Linked DNA regions of Homo sapiens: regions 2 and 3 are each linked to region 1. The links are contacts of gene promoters, found by promoter capture Hi-C in human tissues and cell types (Jung and others, 2019). All regions are on one chromosome and are shown on one strand. The core of a region is centred on a gene start or on the middle of the fragment in contact, and the rest is flanking DNA. Distances in the headings are between cores, read along the strand shown. Region 1 holds the start of COMMD5 (COMM domain containing 5). Region 2 has its middle 4.6 kb from the start of ZNF16. Region 3 has its middle 25 kb from the start of ZNF252P-AS1.

Region 1 (3,489 bases), core at 6-2,505:
CTTCACAACAGTGGGCAAGAAGAATTACCATTCTCACCTGACAGAGAGGGAGATAAGGCTCTAGGCCAGGTGCAGTGGCTCAAGCCTGAAATCTCAGCACTTTGTGAAGGTGAGGCCAGCGGATCGCTTGAGCCCAGGAGTTGGAGACCAACCTGGGCATCATAGCAAGACCCCGTTTCTACAAAAAATTTAAAAAACTAGCCAGGCGTGGTGGTGCACGTCTGTAGTCCCAGCTACTCAGAAGGCTGAGAGGACAGAGGATCCCTTGAGCCCAGGAAGTCGTGGCTGCAGTGAGACGAAATCGAGCCGCTGCACTCCAGCCTGGACAACAGAGATGCTGTGAGGAAGGAAGGAAGGAACGAACGAATGGAGGGAGGGGGGAGGGAGGGGAGGCAGGGAAGAAGAAAAGAAAAGTAAAAAGAAATCAAAGCTCTAAACACAGCTGCCAAAGTCAAGGACTGAAGCCTAGACCTGTCTATTCAGAAGTCCCAGCTGTTTCCACCACAGCCCCAACCCCCGGGCTGGAAGAGCTGAGCAACGGCTGGCAACAGAGGCAAGTGCGGCAACTAAAGAGGGTTCCGACGCACCTGAAGGAGCAGTGCAGCAGCACAAGCACCTGCTATGCCAGAGGAAACGCACGTGCCCACCTCAGCACACCAGGTACTGGAGCAGAGCTCAGCGGGGCACAGCTCCTGTCCTCGAGGCACTTGTCAGGCCACTCTGCACAGCGCTGGGGGAGCCCAGGAGCTCCCCACGGGCTTCACGGCGCCCCATTCTCCCTGGGAGTCAACGACCACCCACTGCCAACTCCTTCACCGTCCCGCCAGCACCAGGAGCTCCTTCCCACTCCAAAGAGCCATCCGGGAAGGCCTCCGAGCTGCCCGCTTCCGGTCGCGCGGCTTGGAAGGCCGGGTTCGCACCCTGACTCCGTACCCGCGGCTCTGATGGGGGCGCGGCGTCGCCCGTTCCGGGGCGCGGGGACCTTGGTGCACAGAGTCAAATTGGCACTCGGCCGTCGCCGCCCCCACGGTTCGGGGCCAACCTACCGGCGGGCGCTCCTCCGCGGAAAAGCCCCGCAGTATCCAGAGCTCTCCGAACACAGCGGCGAAGCAGCCTTTCCTAGGCCCACACCCCCAGCTCGGGAGGGAGACTCCATCCTACTCCACCCCACGCTCCCGCTGTCCGAGTCGCCCCCAGCACCTGGCGCCGGCAATCCCCGGCTGATGCAGCCAAAAGCGGGCCTGGTCCCCGGAAGCGCCCTGAGAGCCACTTCCGGGCCGCTCTAGGAAGGCAGCAATGACCGCCCCACTGTGGTCCGCTGGCCCGAGGGGCGGAGCCGAGGCCGCGCCAGGTCCCGCCCCCTCCCCGCCCGGGGGAATCGGGGGTCGCCGGCGGGGTCCCAGACCTCGTCTTAGACAGTTTTTTTTTTTTCTTTCCCCAAAGAAAAAGAAGGCGGTGTTGTGTTTCCGTTTCTGAGGTAGAAACTGCGGCCTGCGCCCGCGTCTCCCTCCCCGCCCGCGCAGAGTGAGGGTAAAGCGGGAGAACGCGTCCCGTGGTCTGGGGTCAGAATTCCAGTCACCTGAGGCTGAGGAGCTCGCTGGCTTTCGTCGGCGTCCGGGTGGGCGGCGGGGAAACCGCGAGACCTTGAGGATCAGCGCGGAGCGGAGCCGAGCGGGCGTCCCTGTCCCGTGTGGACGGTCTGCGCCTCCAGGGTTTTGAGAGCTGCCCCGTTTCCCCTCCTGTCGGGTGGCGTCCGGCGCGCGTGACTCGGTTCCGCTTTGGGCTGCTCTGTTGGGCCCTAGCGCAGGAGCTCGGTCCGAAACAATGGCCGAGCCATTTTATTTAACATGTACTTTACCATAGTTAAAAAATAATATGCCAAAATCATTGAATTGTACAAAATGGGTGAATTATATGGTATGTGAATTATAGCCCAATAAAACTTAAAAAAAAAAAAAAAACTCTGAAAAGGGAAACAACCTAATTAAATGGGCAGAAGATGTGAGTAGACATCAAGGAAGATACAAAGTGGGTAATGGGTACATGAAGCCTTCGGCATTGTTGGCTATTAGAGAAATGCGAATGGAAGCCACGGGGAGGTGCCATTTCATACCATTAGAAGGGTTATAATAAAAATGACAGGTTGGGTGCGGTGGCTCACGCCTGTAATCCCAGCACTTTGGGAGGCGGAGGTGGACAACCAGATCTCAGGAGAACTCTATCATGAGACCATAACTTAAGGGCATGGTACTAAACCATTCATGAAAAGCCACCCCCACGATCCAATCACTTCCCACCAGTCTCCACCTCCAGCATTGGGTATTACCTTTCAGCATGAGGTTTGGGCGGGGACACAGATGCAAACCACATCAGCCATACAATGGAATAGTGTTCAATAATAAATAGGAGTGGAGACTGGGTGCAGTGGCTCATGCCTACAATCCCAGTACTTTATGAGGACTAGGTGGGAGGACCACTTGAGGCTAGGAGTTCAAGACCAGCCTGGGCGACATATCAAGGCTTCATTTTTACAAAATTAAAAAAAAAAACAGGTGTGGTGGTGTGCACCTATAGCAGGGGTCCCCAACCCTCAGGCTGTGGACCGCTACAGGTCAGTGGCCTGTTAGGAACTGACCTCACAGCAGGAGGTGAGGGCAACCTATAGTCCCAGCTATTTGAGAGGCAGAGTGAGGACCACTTCAGTTCAGGAATTTGAGACCAGCCTGGGGAACATGGCAAGACTCCATTTCTAAGACAAAACAAATCAAGTCTAAAAACCATGCTGAGGGAGGATTGTTTAAAGGGAATGGATCTGGGAAGTTTAGAAAGAGACTGCATCTGTAAGGTGTTATTTCTCTTTAAAATATCTGAAGCAAAAAGGTGAAGTGCTATCACTTGTGAGGTCTGGGCGGTGGTTACGTGGCAGACCCACCCCCTCCTGAAGTGAGGAGAGCCAGGAACCTGGGGGTGAGTTTTGGAGACAGTTCCCACCCAAAGGCCAGAGTGCCTGGAGTGCCTGGAGAACTCTCATCTTATTGTAGCAGGATGAGCCACAGACAAAACTTCTCAGACACTGGGTTAAAGAAGGAAGGGGTTTTATTTGGCTGGGAGCTTTGGCAGACTTGTGTCTTAAGAGCTGAGCTCCTCGAAAAAGAAATTACTGGCCCTTTTAAGGGCTTACAACCCTAAAGGGTCCACGTGAAAGGGTTATTATGATAGACTGGGAAAGCATGGAGAACATGACTGGAGGCTACAAGCATCAGCTAACAGAACAGAAAGTTTTACAATGCTTTCTTATACAATGTCTGGAATTTACAGATAACACAAGTAGTTTAGGTTAGGGGTTGATATTATTAACACCAGGGCCAGGTGATGGCACCAAGGTCATCTGGCTATTTATCTTCTGTTTCTTTCTCACTTTTTGTTTTCTCCCATTTCTCCTGTCTTATAAACTAGGCAAGACAGGGGGAGAGGAGGGCAGTAGGAGAA
Region 2 (3,557 bases), core at 606-3,105, 100 kb after region 1:
TTTATAACGTGAAAGATGAGGATCCAGGATTATTCTCCTACATGTGGCTTGCCAACTATCCCAGGGCTATTTGTTGAATAGGGTGTTCTTTCCCCACTTTATGTTTTTGTATGCTTTGTTGAAGGTTAGTCGGCTGTAAGTATTTGAGTTTATTTCTGGGTTCTCTATTCTGTTCCATTGGTCTATGTGCCTATTTTTATAGCAGTACCATGCTGTTCTGGTGACTATGGCCTTATAGTGTAGTTTGTTTCATGTGCATCCATGTGAAGAGACCACCAAACAGGTTTTGTGTGAGCATTATTTCACCTGGGTGCAGGTGGGCTGAGTCTGAAATGAGAGTCAGTGAAGGGAGATAGGGGTGGGGCCATTTTATAAGATTTGGGTAGGTAAAAGAAAATTACAGTCAAAGGGGGTTGTTCTCTGGTGGGCAGGAGTGGGGGTCACAAGGTACTCAGTGGGGGAGCTTTTGAGCCAGGATGAGCCAGGAGAAGGAATTTCACAAGACAATGTCATCAGTTAAGGCAGGAACAGGCCATTTTCACTTCTTTTGTGGTGGAATCTCATCAGTTAAGGCAGGAACCAGCCATCTGGATGTGTACGTGCAGGTCACAGGGGATATGATAGCTTAGCTTGGGCTCAGAGGCCTGACATTCTGGTCTTCTTATATTAATAAGAAAAATAAAGTGAAATAGTGGTAAAGTGTTGGGATGGTGAAAATTTTTGGGGGTGGTATAGAGAGATAATGGGTGATGTTTTTCAGGGCTGCTTTGAGCGGGATTAGGGGCAGCGTGGGAACCTAGAATGGGAGAGATTAAGCTGAAGGAAGATTTTGTGGTAAGGGATGATATTGTGGGGTTATTAGAAGAAACATTTATCATGTAGAATTATTGGTGATGGCCTGGATATGGTTTTATATGAATTGAAAAAGTAAATGGAATAAGAGAAGGAGAAAAACAGGTATAAAAGGTCTAAGAATTGGGAGGACCCAGGACATCTAATTAGAGAGTGCCTAAGGAGATTCAGCATAGTCCTGCTAGCAAAGATTATTTATTTACTTCAAGAGTTTAGAGTGGCAGTTTGGGGATAGCGCCAGGAGATATCAGCTGTGATGGCTTGCAGAAACAGTGTAAACCAGCTGTGTAAACAAGAGGAGGGCATGTATGAGTAGTTGAGAATGGTGAATAGGAGTATGACTAGATAGAAGATAGTAGGGATGACAAGTTTTTTTTGGGGCACAGTCTAAGTTGGTCTGCTGTCTGGAATGAGACCGGGGCCTAATAAAAAGGAGCATCTCTACAGGAGCTCAAATGGGCTGTACCTTGTAGCATTCTGAGGACAGGTCTGACTTCTGAGAAGGGAAAGTGGTAAAAGTGTTGTCCAGTCCTTTTTAAGTTGGTGGCTGAGCTTGGTGAGGTGTGTTTTTAAAAGACCTTTAGTCAGTTCTACTTTTCTTGAAGATGGAGGACCATAAGGGATATAAAGGTTTCACTGAATACTAAGAGCCTGAAAAACTGCTTGGCTGATTTGAGTAATAAAGGCTTGTCTGTTATCAGACTGTATAGAGGTGGGAAGGCTAAACTGAGGAATTATGTCTGACAGAAGGGAAGAAATGACTGCGGTGGCCTGCTCAGACTGTGTAGGAAAGGCCTCTACCTATCCAGTGAAACTGTCTACCTAGACTAAGAGGTATTTTAGTTATCTGACTCAGGGCATGTTGAGTAAAGCTAATTTGCCAGTCCTGGATGGGGGCAAATCCTCAAGCTTGATGTGTAGGGAAGGGAGGGGGCCTGAATAATCCCTGAGGAGTAGTAGAATAGCAGATGGAACACTGAGAAGTTATTTCCTTGAGGATAGATTTCCACGATGGAAAGGAAATGAGAGGTTCTAAGAGGTGGGCTAGTGGCTTGTACTATAGCATAGCCTGCCTTTGCTGGTGTGTGGTGATTAGGCCTGGTGGAACTGCCATCAATAAATCAAGTGTGATCAGGGTGAGGAACAGGAAAGAAGGAAATATGGGGAAATGGGGTGAATGTCAAGTGGATCAGAGAGATACAGTTGTGGGGGTCAGGTGTGGTATCAGGAATAATGTGGGAGGCCGGATTGAAGTCCGGGCCAGAAACAATGGTAATTGTGGGACTTAACAAAGAGTGAGTACAGCTGAAGGAGCCAGGGAGCAGAAAGTATATGCATCAGGTATGAGGAAGAAAATAGATTTTGGAAGTTATGAGAAATGTAGAGAGTGAGTTGAGCATAGTTTGTGATTTTAAGGGCCTCTAAAAGTATTCGGGTGGCAGCAGCCACTGCACAGAGACATAATGGCCAGCTTAAAACAGTAAGGTCAAGTTGTTTGGACAAAAAGGCTACAGGACGCGATCCTGGTCCTTGTGTAAGAATTCTGACTGCACAGCCCTGCACTTCGGCTGTGTGTAATGAAAAGGGTTGGGATGAGTCAGGGAGAGCTAGAGTGGGGGCAGTCTCTAAAGCTGTCTTCAAGGAATGGAAAGAGGAGTGGGGAAAGGATTTAGGATCTATGGGGTCAGCTAGGTTTCCTTTTGTGAGTTTATAGAATGGTCTTGTTAGGATGGCAAAACCAGGTATCCAAAGGTGAAAGTATCTAAACATGCCCAGGAAGGAAAAGAGTTGTTGTTTTGTAGAAGGGGTAGGGGTTTGAGAGATTAGTGGGACATGATCGGCAGGGAGAGCACGTGTGTTTTTATGAAGAATTATGCCAAGGTAGGTAACGGATGGAGAAGAAATTTGAGCTTTGGAGGGGGATACCTGATATCCATTGGAGAATAAATGCTGAAGGAGCAGAAGTGTGTCTTGTTGAGAAGATTCACAGGAGGGGCTACAAAGAAGAAGGTCATCAATATATTGAATAAGGTGAGAAGTGGAGGGGTGGAAAGAAAGTAAATCGTGAGAAAGAGCTTGGCTGAAGTAATGAGGGCTGTCCCTGAAACCTTGCAGCAGCACAGCCCAGGTAAGCTGCTGGGACCGATGATGGGTGTCAGGGTCAGTCCAGGTGAAAGCAAAGAGAGGCTTGGATGAGGGGTGCAGGGGAATAGTGAAAAAAACATCTTTAAGATCAAGAATGGAATAGTGAGTTGTGGAGGAAGGTATTGAGGACAAAAGAGTGTATGGGTTGGGCACTGCAGGTGGATAGACAAAACAATTTGGTTGATAAGGCATAGATCCTGAACTAACTTATAAGGCTTGTCTGGTTTTAGGACAGGCAAAATGGAATTGTAAGAGGAGTTTATAGGCTTTAAAAGGCCATGCTGTAGCAGGCGAGTGATAACAGGCTTTAATCCTTTCAAAGCATGGTGTGGGATAGGATATTGGCATTGAGTGGGGTAAGGGTGATTAGGTTTTAATGAGATGGTAAGAGGTGCATGATTGGTCACCAAGGAGGGAGTAGAGATATCTTATACTTGTGGGTTAAGGTGGGGGGATACAAGAGGAGGACACAAAGGAGGCTTTGGATTGGGAAGAAGGGCGGCAATGAGATGTAGCTGTAGTCCAGGAACAGTCAGGGAAGCAGATAATTTAGTTAAAGT
Region 3 (3,698 bases), core at 177-2,676, 120 kb after region 1:
ATTTTGAATTAGTTGGATATATTGGGCCAGCTACAAGACTGCAAGCTCCTTGCTGGCAGCGTCTTAACTCTTGGAAACCTGGAGGTGGATTACAGTGTTATCTGACTTTTTAGCAAGGTCTCAACTATTTTAATCTACACAAAGACTCACCTTATTCCTTGACAAACTTTTGCTTATAATCATGTTTCTCTTCCCTGTGAATTGAAGCTTAAGGTATCATATTCCTTATAACAGAATAAAAACGTTTTGAAGAGGCCCAAACAAACAAAGAAAACCCTAGCCTGGTTCCATCACACTTGGAAGTGCAAGGATCTCAACTACTTTCTTTGAAGTTGAAATAAATCATACAAAAAAAAAAAAAAAAAAAAGCAAAGCAAAGCAAAGTAAGTGGTCTCCAGTGAAATACCTAACTGTACCTTAGGGTCTGGTGCCATGAAATGCATCTAAATAATTAAGTTTCACATATCTACAGGGCTCAAGAAGGGGGCTCATCCTCTGAATCTGAAGCAAGGTGTGCTATTGTGGGATTGCTGCTATATACTTCAGCAGCCTGCCTTTAGTTAGCAGCTCACTGGGAGAGTGAAATCCCTTAAGAGCTGAATCTCCAAAAGGAAAACCATAAAGTGACTCATTTCTCACGAGTATGACTCTCATATAATGTATAACTGTGAAGAATTTATAGACTAATCAGTTACTCTCCACTGTGAACTGTACAATGTTGAATGAAAGATGACTGTGCGCTAGAGTTCCCCACACTTACTACATTCATAGACTTGCTCTCTAATGTGAATTGTATGGATTTTCTCATGACTACTAAGAGTTATTCTCTAACTGAAGGTTTTTTCACATCGATTACACGTATGAGGTTGCTCCCCACTGTGAATTCTCTGATGTTGAATAAGGTGAGAGCTTTGTCAGAAGGATTTTCCACATTTGGCACATACATAGGGTTTCTCTCCAGTGTGAATTCTCTTGTGTTGGATAAGGGATAAGCATGCACTGAAGGATTTCTCACACTCATTGCACATGTAGGGTTTCTCTCCAGTGTGAATTCTCTGATGTTGGATAAATTGTGAATGCTGACTGAACGCCTTGCCACAGTCACTACATTCATAAGGTTTCTCACCAGTATGAATTCTGTGATGCTGAATGAGAGAGGAACAAACATTGAAGGCCTTCCCACATTCACTGCACTCATAGGGATTCTCTCCAGTGTGAATTCTTTGATGGTGGATAAGGTGTGCACTCTGGCTGAAGGCCTTCCCACAGTCACTGCACTCATAGGGCTTCTCTCCATTGTGTGTTCTCTCATGCTTAATTAGGGTGGATATCTGCCCAAAGGTTTTCCCACACTCATTACACTCATAGGGTTTCTCACCAATGTGACTCCTCTGATGCTGAATAAGGTGTGACCCCTGGCTAAAGGCCTTCCCACATTTGTGACACTCATAGGGTTTGTCTCCATTATGTATTCTCTGATGTTGAACAAGGGAAGAAAGCAAACTGAAGGCTTTATCACATTCATTACATTCATAGGACTTCTCACCATTGTGTGTTCTTTGATGGTGAATAAGATTAAAACTCTGGCTGAAAGCTTTTCCACACTCACTACATTCATAGGGTTTCTCTCCTGTGTGAATTCACTGATGCTGAATAAGATGTCCCTTTTGACTAAAGGTTTTCCCACACACACTACAACCATAAGGTTTCTCTCCAGTGTGAATTCTCTGATGCTGGATAAGGGATAGACGAGCACCAAATGATTTTCCACACTCATTGCAGATATAAGGTTTCTCTCCAGTGTGAATTCTCTTATGTTGAATAACTTGTGAGCATTGACTAAAGGATTTCCCACATTCATTACACCTATAAGGTTTCTCTCCAGTGTGAATTCTCTGATGGACAGTAAGAGTTCGGTTCAGGCTAAAGGATTTTGCACATTCATTACATTCATAGGGCTTTTCTCCTGTATGAATTCTCTGATGCTGAATGAGAAATAATTGTGTACTGAAGGCTTTGCCACACTCCTTACAGTCATAAGGTTTCTCTCCAGAATGAATTCTCTGATGCTGAATAAGGTTTGATTGTCTGTTGAAGGCTTTCCCACATTCTTTGCACTTGTAAGGTTTCTCTCCACTATGAATTCTCTGATGATGAATTAGATTAGAGCTATGACTAAAGGCTTTCCCACACTGATTACACTCATGATGTTTCTCTCCTGTATGAATTTTTAGATGTTGAACATAAGATGAATGTGTACTAAAAGCTTTCCCACATTTAATACACTCATAGGGTTTTTCTCTAGTGTGAATTTTACAATGCTGAATAAAGTATGAGTGAACACTGAAAGATTTGCCACAATCCTCACATGTGTAGAGTTTCTTACCAGTGTGGATTCTCTGATGTTTACTGAGGATAGAGGGCCAACTGAAAGCTTTTCCACATTCATTGTGCTCATAGGTCTTCTCTCCACTATGAAATCTCTGGTGCTGGTTAAAAGCTCTGTTCTGATTGTAAGTTTTTCCACACCCAGTACTCTCAAACCATCTCTCTGGATTATTCATCCTCTGATTCTCACTAAGAACTGAGCTCTGTCTGGGCACTTTCACTAACACATCTGTCTGATAGGCTCTTTCTCCTAATTGGAAACTCTGGAGGTTAATGAGGTCCTCATGTTGTTGCAAGTTTTCTACACTTGACACACTTGGATGGAGACTCTCCTCTCTAGACCCTCTAAGATGTTTGGCAGGATTTGAGTCTGTAATGCAGTTTTCTCCAACAGCATTGAACTTCTGGCCATTCTCTCTAGAGAGGGTTTTCACATACCTCATGGTAATTTCTCTGAAATTGCTCTTCTGGGAGAATGAGTTCTTAACTCCTTCTACTGCATATTTTCTCCAGCAATTCTCTAACTTTCCCTCAGTTTTACTCATCTCTTCAGTTTCCTTAAAAATATTCCTTACATGATCTTCTGATTTTGCTCTCTGGGATTCCAATTCTTCAGAAATGTCCTGCTTTGGAATCATTTCCTCTTTTTCAATCCTAGAATCACAGCCTGAAAGAATGAAAAAGAAAAAAAAAGTGAATCGCTTGCATTTTACTATGGAAGAAAGAATTAGAGAATAAACAGAAATATTTGTATCAAACAAATATCTTCTAGGATAATACTGATATTCAGAATGCAAATAAAAAAAAAAGCAACAAATATGACCCCATTGGGGAGAGGAAAAAGAGAAGCATGCTGGTAAAGCAATGAACACTGGTGTGGGAAGGAAGAAGGAAGGTAATATGCCCAAGGTCAAAGGCTTAAATCTGCAACCAGGCTGACCTTTCCTGGAGTAGGAAAGGCAAGATCTGAGAAAGGATTTGGGGAGAGTTACCAGGAGGGAGGAATTGGAGGCTGCCTCCACTATTCATGTCATTGCTGCATACTTTGTAAACAAGGTATCTTCTTATGGCTTACACATAGCATACTCAAATATTTGTTGAAAATAAATGATAAATGACTCATAATAAATGAGGTGTACATCAGTGCAATAGATGATGAAAAAAACTATTTGATCTAGACAACTTGGTTTCACAGAAGCAAATCAGGAAAAACAGAAAAAAGCAGCAACCTACTCAGGAAATAGCTTGGGCAGCACAAGGCAAAAAGGCCAAGTATAAACAACAGTCCCAAATCACACATTTCCAGTGAA

Evidence for each region. The method cuts DNA at HindIII sites, captures the fragments that hold promoters and counts their contacts. A contact is called where the count stands out against the background at its distance.
Region 2: a contact is called between a fragment that was not itself captured here and the fragment with the promoter of COMMD5 in region 1, in 3 of the 25 tissues and cell types used here (dorsolateral prefrontal cortex, mesendoderm cells and thymus).
Region 3: a fragment that was not itself captured here is called in contact with the fragment with the promoter of COMMD5 in region 1 in 14 of the 25 tissues and cell types used here (H1 embryonic stem cells, IMR-90 fibroblasts, adrenal gland and 11 more).

What each region holds. Positions count from the first base shown.
Region 1 is chr8:144,851,793-144,855,281 of GRCh38, forward strand. It overlaps COMMD5 (COMM domain containing 5), which reads right to left and starts at 1,256. Exons shown (of 2, transcript NM_014066.4): 1 at 1,047-1,256. RefSeq lists enhancers at 471-1,319, 897-1,226, 1,777-1,876 and a silencer at 1,297-1,486. The HindIII fragment of the contact is 6,847 bases long and covers 1-3,489 here.
Region 2 is chr8:144,953,670-144,957,226 of GRCh38, forward strand. No RefSeq gene overlaps it. Among named protein-coding and RNA genes, the nearest start is that of ZNF16, 4.6 kb to the left of the region's middle. The HindIII fragment of the contact is 6,539 bases long and covers 1-3,557 here.
Region 3 is chr8:144,975,499-144,979,196 of GRCh38, forward strand. It overlaps the pseudogene ZNF252P. Among named protein-coding and RNA genes, the nearest start is that of ZNF252P-AS1, 25 kb to the right of the region's middle. The HindIII fragment of the contact is 3,341 bases long and covers 1-3,097 here.